Linked DNA regions of Homo sapiens: region 1 is linked to region 2. The links are contacts of gene promoters, found by promoter capture Hi-C in blood cells and fetal thymus (Javierre and others, 2016). All regions are on one chromosome and are shown on one strand. Each heading gives the region's core, a stretch centred on a gene start or on the middle of the fragment in contact. The rest is flanking DNA. Distances are from core to core; before and after follow the strand shown. Region 1 has its middle 11 kb from the start of MIR320D2. Region 2 holds the start of LDOC1 (LDOC1 regulator of NFKB signaling).

Region 1 (5,578 bases), core at 2,516-5,015, 260 kb after region 2:
CCACACAGTGAAGTTTCCTCAATTCCACTCTTCCATACCCCACATCTAGTCTGTCAGAAAATCCTGTCGGCTCTCCTATCATAATGTACCCAGAATACGCCCACTTTTCACCACCTTCAATGCTATTCCTCATCATCTCTCACCCAAATAATGACAATCACTTCCTCTCTAGTCTCCTTCCTTCCCCCTTTCCCAGCTCCAGTTTATTCTCAACACAGCAGCCAGAGAGATCCTTTGAAAACTCAGAACATATCATGTCACTATCTGGCTCAAAACTCTGTCATGGTTCCCAGTTTCACTCAGAGTAAAAGGCAGTGTCTTGACAGTAGCCTATAAGGCCTCCATGACCCACCATCCTGCTCTCTGTGCAATTCCTTCCCTCTTCCTGGCCTTTGCACGCTCTGTACTCTCTCACTGGAATGCTGTTCTCCAAGAATCTGTCTGGCTTTTCCCCTCACCCCATTCAGGCCTCTGCTCAAATACCACCTGACCAGAGAAGGCATCCATGACCACCCTATTTAAAATGACTTCTCCTCCCTACCCCAGTCCTTGCTAACTCTTCCTGGTTTTTTTCATAACACTGATCCCCATCTGATACACTAAATCTTTTTTTTTTTTTTTGCATATTGTGCATTTTGTATGTCTCATTACAGGAATGTAGCTCTGTGAAGAAACTACTGTATTTTTAGCACCCAGAACAGTACCTGATACCAAGAAGTTTCTCAAGAGGCATTTGCTGATTAATTTCTGAAAAGAGTTTTGTGAAATGGGTACCATTATTATTCCCATTTTACAGATGAAGAAATGTCATAGCGTTTCAGTGGTTTAGTTAGGGTTACTCATCTAGTAAGAGGTGAGTCAGGTCTCCCTGCCTCTGTAGAGATAAAATTCATTCTCTCTCTCTCTCTCTCTCCTTCCTCCTTTACACATCCGAAAACACATATACACATGCTTACGTGAACATTCTGCAACATTCTGCAAATATTCTCAGTGTCACTGTAACTAAATTTTTAGAAAAAAATAGCAAAGGACTAACTGGAATGAGCTCCATCAGCAGGAGGAAAAGAAGCAAAAAACTCAAGCAAAAATAATATGACTGAGGAGGAAAACTAGTATTCAATGCAAAACATTAAGGAGGTTTTTGTGGGTGGAAGCAATCTTGTTCATCTACTTGTGGCAGGATATTTCGAAGAAGTATTATTGTGGGGTTTGTTCTCTGTTACAAAGTAATCAGAATGAGAGGTAGTTTTCTTCCTATTTCCTCAAGGCCTCACTCTCAGAAGGGCCCTGTGCTTGGTTTAAAGCCCTGCTGTCATTGTCTTGAAATTGTGAATAATTTTATCTTTGATTTTGTGGTTTGTAAGTGAAATCTAATGGGACAACAGAACATTTGTGTTAACACACAACATATGCCAGGTGGTAGTATGCACATAGCAGTTCATGCAATGCACTATGCACACCCAGGGTAGTCCAGGGTACTGCAGGTTCTTGAAAGAATAGCTGTGGCCAGGATCTAGGTCAAGACTGGTGGAGTCAATAGTGGTGGAAACAGCAGAAGCTACAGTTGTCATGGCAGTGGCTGCAGCCCCAAAAAAGAGGGGGTGCTCCATATGGGGCCAGCACTGGGACCAAGGTGGACATTCACTTACCTGTCCATCCCCAAAGCCCATCCCTCTGCCATCTACACGAATAGCTACTCTCTGACTTGAATTTTGGGACAGGTAACTGCCTGTTTTTAGGCAATAAAGTTTGTCAGCAAATTACTATAAAACAAGTATAAAATGCATTGTACATTGCAATAAACATATCAGAGAGTTATTTGGAGTTTTCAAAGAGTTTAGAATTTCTGGGTTTGAAACCTGTTGCAGCCTTGCAAAGGAAATATCCACAGGCTTAGAAAAGAATTAATTTTAAAGATTATCCTATTCAACAGAAAATAAATATTTTCATATAAAGCTTCGGATGAACCAAATATTAAAGATGAAGACAATTTGAAAATTAACATTTCCTTGTAATTGAAGATAGAGTGGTGGAATGCATAAACAAGCATTTTGAATGGTTTATAAATGATGAAGTCACTTTTGGTTAATTATATAACCTCCACGAGTTGCAGGAAATGTCAAATAAACATTAAAATACCATTGTTTACATTTACATTTAAAGTTAAATTCTGACTTACATGAAACTGACTTGTATGAAGAGTTATATCTTTTTAGAAAAATTGTTTCATGAGAATCATCAGCTCTAGATGTAATAAAATTTATATTTTAAAATAATTTGTTAAAACCTTACCCCAATGTTGTCCTTCTCTAGAAATACTCTTGACAGCATCAGTTACAGTTGCATGAGCAGAAAAATCCTTCTCAATATTAAAACATATCAAAGGGGATTTGCAATCTTACATTTGTCACCAGTAACTGATGGTACTTTCAATTATATTGACTAAAAACAAGGTTGCTGTAAGTATACGTTTTGGTGATATTATAAATTAATTTGCAGAAAAGTGAGCCAGAAGAATCTTGTGCTCAATCAAGATGTCACATTAATGAAATGTCATTATTCACTGTATATATAAAATTATGGCACTGATTTATAAAATTATGAAACAAATATTATTCTTTGCATTTCTAAAGATTATGCCATTACTCATGTGTCACTATTACCCCTATTAAGTTTCATAAGTAATAAAATATTTCTAAAGGGAGAAGTTTCATAGTTTCGTACCTTTAACATCACTTTTTTCTGATTCTTGAACAAGGGACCCTGAATTTTCATTTTGCACCAAGCGTCAAAAATTATGTAGCTGGTCCTGCTTCAGGATTATATCATTCTCTCTGCCACCTACCCTACCACTCCACCACACACACACACACAGCTAATCAAACAAGCTTTTCCTTATTTTATATATTATTTGATTGAGGCACAGCTTTATCCAGGCACTAATCACCTCATTTATGTTAAGATGCTGTAAGTTAATAGGAAACATATTCTTCATCCCAAATAATACATGTATTTTAATAGAGGTTTGCGCTGACAACCTTGAAAGGATGTTGTTTCATCCTGGTCTGTAGTTCCCCGCAAAGGTTCTGACATAGAACTGACATTTGATAAATATCTGTTAAATTAAGTGTATGGTAAGTGATTCTGGAACTCCCTAGCAGGCTATTAGTAGTGCTGTTCTCAGTCAAGGGCACATTTCTTGGTTGTTACACGAAAAATGAATGTATGAACCATATGCAGATCTTTGCTCCACTTTGTCCCCAAAGTGTAATTGGTATCTAACCTCAGCTTTCCTGTGCAGGCTAGAGCCTAGTAAATGAGATAAGTTGGGCTCCGAGCCCAAGAACACCTTACCACAAGTAAGAGATGGCCTTCATTTTGAAACAAAGCACACACATGCCCCTGAATTTCAAAGCAAGGTGCCCCAGTCTCCAGGATGAAAGGGATGAATCTACTGTCAGCTTCTAACTAACTTCTTTGTTCCTTCATGTTTTATTTTCCTAACAAGGGTCAGTCCCTCTGGTTCTTACTGTCACTATCATTCCAGGCTCACTCACTAAAACTCCACTGTGGGTTTTGACAAGAATCCATTTTGTAGAGCTGAGCAGGGTAGCATTTATTCAAGAGTTTTAATGCATGCTATGAGGATATAAAAATTAAATTGACATAAAACACAAATAGAGAGAAAAATAAGATTTTCAAAGTACAAATTTCCAATTTTAAGAGTGTTAGTAAATGAATCCAGCTGACTAGGTCCCCAATCATCTGACTAAAAATTTATCTTCCTCCTACTATACATAATGAGCCTCTTTCTCTCCCAGCAGCATGTCTACCTCTTGGCTTTTATGTACTATATTGTCCCTCACCTTGAGACTCTCATTCCAACTCTTACCACCAAAGATTTGCCAAACCCTCAGGTGACCCTCAGTCCTTTCTAGAGCTAAGGATGAGCTAAATTATTGACTTGGATGCAAAACACTACTACTTTACAAATCATTGTTGGACTGAGTGTTTACCCCAGTTTTAAAGTTCATTCTATCACACAGAAACAATTGATTTTATTAAAGCCAGTTTGCTTTTTGCAAAATTGTGTAACAGCTGTTTCAACATAAAGCACTTGAAGCACAAATATTAGATAAGCACATGTACAGAAGGGAATGGGGTGTCAGAAATAAAATGATTTAGATATGGTACTTAAGGAATATTGAAGTATGATAAAATAAATCCTTGTTATGAATCATTTCTGAGACCCATAGAGATAGATTTGTGCCTATGATATGCCATATCTCACACTTTGTTGCGTCTCCCATAGAGCCCAGCACCTAGCATATTCTCTTTAATACTGGAGTGCTCAGTAAAGGTCCGGTAAGTGATTGACTGGTTGTTGCTCTTGCAAAAGAAAACAATTCATTTTCTGATGAGCTTTGTATTTAAGATCCAAATCAGACAAGCTAGTTTATTTTTCTTCAAAAATGGTGATTATTTACTCTGTTGCAAATAAATATAGAATGCCATGTCATCGAGAAAACATTTCTGAATCTACGGACACACAGTCAAAAGAAATACATAAGAAGAAAGAATACACTGAAAAGATATCTCCCTTTTCTGAGTTTAATAAATGACCATTTTAACAAAAGCTTGTGAGACGAAATTGCTTTATGAATGAGACATTTTATGTCAAGTTCCAGCCAGTAGCTGACAACACTTTCAGTGCAATGTTAACAATTTGAAATATATTGAAATAATTTTATAAATTAATAATGTAGCTATGAAAAGCTCAACCTCATAATCATTCTCCTCTGGAAACACTCCATTCCATCTTATTTTTATAAGCACTTTATATGGAAATATGATACGTTGCTCCTGTTAAGCAAACTACTTTAGGAGGCAAAAAATTGATTTATTGAATAATTAGCATGCAGATAGAGAAAAGCTATGTGCCTTGCAGAAGATCTAAAATTGTTATTGGGAGCAAAGTGATAGTCATATTTTTTTAAACTGTATCAGCGATTGCAGATGCCAGGCACATTCGCAATAACAGTACAATTTAGTCACGGATTAGATATGGACATGGTGTTAGCATTTTAGTGTGAGAATAATTTTGGTAATATAAATGTGAGCAAACCTTTGAGGATTTAGAAAGGCCAGATAAGGCATAAAGTATATCCTGGCCGTGGCAGCGTAACAGGGTCATTGTAGGAAGAGGATATATAATGTAGATTATTCATGACCTCAGAGAAGACAGCGACACACAGAAGACTCTTACTAATAAAAATAGAGATGATGTTGCATACATTTATGAAATTCCCAGAGAGTAGCAAGTATGATATTGGACATATTAAAAGGTCAAGTGCTTCTCTCTCAGCACTAAGAAAGAAATATCAGAATGTCCCTAAAGATAGATAAAGCATAAAGCAGTGAGTTTTAATAAAAGTTGTGGTTGGCAGACAATGGAAATTAATGACCAACTAAGTTAGTGATCAAATTGGCATGTCTGCAATAACCACAAACAAACTTTATCTCTCTGTCAAAGGAAAACAAACAGGAAACTCAAGAGGTTTGAGATAACAGCCAAATT
Region 2 (5,057 bases), core at 2,558-5,057:
GGAAGGCGACATGCAGCTGTGAGCAGGGTGAATGGAGAAGGAAGTGCTGATATGCATTGGCACTGGTGGGAGAGCCTCACAGGCACCTGGAAGCTGGTTAAAATGAGCATTAAGATTCTACATCTTCTATCAACTGATACTACATACCTCTTCCTGACTGCTTCTGTTGTGAGTCAGTGCTAAGCTGCTTGTCTCCATTCCCTTTCTCCAACCAGGGAAGCACCTCCCAAAGTCACTGCTCAGTTCTGGGCAGGACATTTCCTGTCTTCCAGGGTCTCAGAGCACACTCAGAGGGAACAATAGTGGTTGCCTCGTCTGGTTTCCTCCCTGAATCCCTCTGCTGTGGGGTTGTAGGGAGAAAATTAGGGCAGCATCTGCCTAATCATCTCTGGTTCCCCACTAGACCTGCCTGGGCCCACTGAAGTCACAAGGGTCCAGCACATATTAATTATTCAGAGCAAGGGCATGGGCGGGCTTTAGAGTTAGAGAGGTTGGCATGAAGGTATAGCACCATCAACCTATTGCTTTATTAGGTTTAGATATTTACCTCCTGGGTCTCTGGCTCTAAAATGCCCATTCCCATGTCTGGTCCTTGTGTATGAGTCATTGTGACAGCCCTGCCAATCACCTGGCCCAGTGTCTGCTACAGAAAGTGTGCTCTAGGCCGGGCGCGGTGGCTCACGCCTGTAATCCCAGCATTTTGGAAGGCCGAGGCGGGTGGATCACCTGAGGTCAGGAGTTTGAGACCAGCCTGACCAACATGGAAAAACCCTGTCTCTACTAAAAATATAAAATTAGCTGGGCGTGGTGGCGCATGCCTGTAATCCCAGCTACTCGGGAGGCTGAAGCAGGAGAATCGCTTGAACCCGGGAGGCGGAGGTTGCAGTGAGTCGAGATTGTGCCATTGCACTCCAGCCTGGGCAACACGAGCAAAACTCTGTCTAAAAAAAAGAAAAAGAAAGAAAGAAAGTGTGCTCCCAGGAGTCGAACCCTGAGTACTCTTCCTGTATTAGGGCCTGGATATGAAAGGTGAAGCTGGACACTACCTCTGTCCCAGTCAGGCCCATCCTGTACTCTGAACTGTAAATGGGCATGATGGCCAGAGACCTACTTTCCACATTTCACATCCCTCCCCTCAATCCTTACACTGAATGTTTACGGAGCAGCTAGTAAACACTGCCAGGTGCTGAAGATAAAATTAAGAGTGAGAGTGGATCCCTGCCTGCCAACTTCTCAGGTGGCGGAGCTCATAGCACAGGAGAGGCCAAAAGCTCACATTCCTCCTATCTCTTTTTTTCACTGCTTATCCTTTCACCACTGTGATCTTCCCCGTGTCCCTGCTTGGGGCTTGGCCCTGTTTCTCTGCTCTTTCCCAGCCTCCTACTTCCATGGATGATCATTCAATTCTATCCTAAAGGACCGAATCGAATTTCTTTAAAAATCTATTCAGCCAGTTTTATTACATCAGTCATTGTTTCACAATCGAGACTGATCCATGGTCAGAGATAAAATACACTGAACAATTTTTTTTCTTTTTTTTTTTTCTTTTTGAGATGGTGTTTTGCTCTTATTGCCCAGGCTGGAGCACAATGGCGTGATCTCGGCTCAGGCAACCTCTGCCTCCCAGGTTCAAGTGATTCTCCTGCCTCAGCCTCCCAAGTAGCTGGGATTACAGGCGCCCACCACCACACCTGGCTAATTTTGTATTTTTTGGAAAGACAGGGTTTCTCCATGTTGGTCAGCCTGGTCTTAACTCCTGACCTCAGGTGGTCTGCCCCCCTCAGCCTCCCAAAGTGCTGGGATTACAGGCATGAGCCACCACGCCCAACCTTACATTTAACAATTTGAAGAGTATTTTTTGACTCTTTGTGCAGCGACAACTTCTGATTTTCATCTCAGCATCTTCACTCTGGGATGATTTTACTCGCCAAACATTAATGAAGCCTCTACTCTGGGCCAGAACTTTTCTAGGCATTAGGGATAGACCAGATAGCAAAAGCAGTGTTTGACTTATATATTCTAAAATGGAAGCAGATGATGAGCAAAGTACTGTATATACATACGACATGGTGGCCGGTAGCACAATAAATGTTATGTAGATAAATGAAGCAGAGTAAAGGGTTACAGATTGGGGGCAGAGAACAGGGTGCTCTGATAGGTCCGGTGGTCAGAAAAGTTCTCTCTGAAAGCAGTAGGAGGAGTCAGGCAGCCAACTGGGATGACAGCCTTGCAAGGCAGAAGGAATAGAAGATGCAAAGGCTATGAAGCCAGAACTGCTTGATGGGTGTGAGAATCAGCAAGGAGGACAGTGATTAGAGCACAGCAGAAACTGGGAAGAGGCACAGGATAGAAGGAGGGGCCTTGTAGGCCTTGGCTGCAACTTTGCTCTTTATTCTCAGGTGAAACTGTTGGAGGATTTTGAGCAGGAGAGTGAAGGGATCTTTTTTTTTTTCTTTTGAAACGGAGTCTCGCTCTGTAGCCCAGGCTGGAGTGCAGTGGCGCTATCTCGGCTCACTGCAACCTCTGCCTCCAGGGTTCAAGCAATTCCCCTGCCTCAGCCTCCCGAGTAGCTGGGATTACGGGCATGCGCCACCACGCCCAGCTAATTTTTTGTATTTTTAGTAGAGACGGGTTTCACCCTGTTAGCCAGGATGGTCTCGATCTCCTGACCTCGTGATCCGCCCGCCTCGGCCTCCCAAAGTGCTGGGATTACAGGCGTGAGCCACCGCGCCCGGCCCTAATTTTTGTTTTAAAGGATTCCCGTGGCTACTCTATGGAGAATATACTATAGGAAGAAAAGAGTGAAAGCTAAGTGATTAGTTGCAGCAGTCTGGGTGAGAAAGAAAGGCTAGGAATCAGGGTGGCAGTGGCAGAAATGACAAGACGTGATTGAATTGGCAATATATTTGAAAGCAGAGCCAACAATTCATGTTGGCTCTAGAATCAGGGATCCATTCAAAGTAGAAAAACAAAATTATTTAAAAACACAAACATCTTAACAGTTCATTTTTAAGTACAGAATAATACCCAGTGGCCAACGGCACTAATAGCAAGACAAGAAATAGAGAATCAAAGATATGTGGGATGCCTGCAATTGACTATTGGATGCTGATTTTGCAGAACTTTTTTATATCTTGTTACTTAGGTTTTGTGTGTGTGTGTGTGTGTGTGTGTGTGTGTGTGTGTATACCATATTATTTCCCTACTAAAGAAGTCACTGTTTAAATACTACCTTTTTCATGAAAGGCAGGACCCCCTGAGGGTCTTCATGATTCTAAAAGGAAGTGTGACTCCCACAGGGCAGCCAGCAGTGTCAATACTTCTCTGAGTGAGATTTAAATAAGAAAGAAAATGTGTTAATAAAACATCAAGCCAAGAGAATCTAGTGGCCACAGACCCACGAAGGAACACTGAGTTGTGCAAGCTACCTAGGTAGAAGGGTGGCTAATCCTTTCAGTTTGAACAAATTTACCTTCTCTGAGACCGGACTCAGCGCTCGCCAAGTCCTCTGCTAACGCAGGCCCCACAACTAGGAGCTAGGGGAGCCTATCCCAGCCTTTAACTGCCCGCCGAGAGACCTACCACAAGCCGGTGGTTCAGCGACCCAGCGCATCCTTTTCCTGGCCACGCCCTCTTTGTCTACACCCTTCCCATCCCGGCCACGCCCCCACGCCGCCGCGGCCCCCCCACTCCCAGCCTAGCCACGCCCCTCCCCCGTCGCGCCGGCGCACCGTCCGTCCGAATGGCCTCGTGGGCGGAGCTTGCGTAGCCTCCCGGACCCCGGCGCACACCGCCCCCCGCCCCCCGCCCCTGGCCACCAAGCGCCTCCGTGGACACGCACTTCCTGCGAGGGCTCCGTGCGCACCTTGGCCGAGCCGAACCGAGCCGAGTCCTGTCCTTCCAGGCCGTTCGCAATGGTGGATGAGTTGGTGCTGCTGCTGCACGCGCTCCTGATGCGGCACCGCGCCCTGAGCATCGAGAACAGCCAGCTCATGGAACAGCTGCGGCTGCTGGTGTGCGAGAGGGCCAGCCTGCTGCGCCAGGTACGTCCGCCGAGCTGCCCGGTGCCCTTCCCCGAAACGTTTAATGGCGAGAGCTCCCGGCTCCCCGAGTTTATCGTGCAGACGGCGTCTTACATGCTCGTGAACGAGAACCGATTCTGCAACGACGCCATGAAGGTGGCATTCCTAATCAGCCTCCTCACCGGGGAAGCCGAGGAGTGGGTGGTGCCCTACATCGAGATGGATAGCCCCATCCTAGGTGATTACCGGGCCTTCCTCGATGAGATGAAACAGTGCTTTGGCTGGGATGACGACGAAGACGACGACGACGAAGAAGAGGAGGATGATTATTAGGCCCTCGACCCTCGGGCCTCGGGGGGGAGGGCCCTGCACGCCGCCACCCCCTCCCCGCAGCCCTCACCCCGCCAGGAGCCACTGCTCTCCCCCTTGCCCTCCGGTCCCCTTACCTACCCGCGCCCGTCTGCTCTCTCTCTTCATTTCTCCGTAGTGCTTGTCTTTGTTCCAGGAATAGCGCTCCAGTTACCTGCTGCTGGGGTCGGGGCTGGAGCCTCACTCACTCGGAAGTGCTTGGAAGTGTCATCTACCCTGGCCATCCCCGGGATCCCTCCCCTGCTAATCTGAACTGTGTCCTGAACCCCAGCTATTGGCCAGGCCCCTGTTACAAACTGCGCAGACCACCCGTAGCCCTGCTGCTGCCACCTGCCCTGCTGCCAGGCTTACATCTTCCCAGAGAACTATGCTGCCACTTCACATCCACTCACCACATCCCACCTACAGACTACCACCTTTCGAGATCAGGACCAACCTGGAAAATGCCAGAGTTGGCTATGCCTTTTCAGACATTGATTTGGACAGCTCACCAACCCCTGAAGGGGCCGTTCAGCCTGGTTAGTTTTCTACCTACTCCGAGTGTCCTCCCCTGCCCCACCAGATTGCTGCAGGGGCGCGGTGTGCCTGGCAGCCAAATTGTTGACACTTCTTTTTTCCTATGCACTGGTTTTACACAGCTGTCATTTTTCTTTCAAAATTGCAGCA

What was found. Contacts are between HindIII fragments. The CHiCAGO score rates a contact against its expected background, and 5 or more counts as called.
Region 1: a contact is called between a fragment that was not itself captured here and the fragment with the promoter of LDOC1 in region 2, in 1 of 17 cell types (total B cells). The highest score is 5.3, in total B cells.

What each region holds. Positions count from the first base shown.
Region 1 is chrX:140,912,754-140,918,331 of GRCh38, reverse strand. No RefSeq gene overlaps it. Among named protein-coding and RNA genes, the nearest start is that of MIR320D2, 11 kb to the left of the region's middle. The HindIII fragment of the contact is 1,749 bases long and covers 2,891-4,639 here.
Region 2 is chrX:141,175,879-141,180,935 of GRCh38, reverse strand. It overlaps LDOC1 (LDOC1 regulator of NFKB signaling), which reads left to right and starts at 3,807. Exons shown (of 1, transcript NM_012317.4): 1 at 3,807-5,057. The coding sequence starts at 3,915. The coding sequence ends at 4,355. RefSeq lists an enhancer at 4,243-4,742. The HindIII fragment of the contact is 16,966 bases long and covers 1-5,057 here.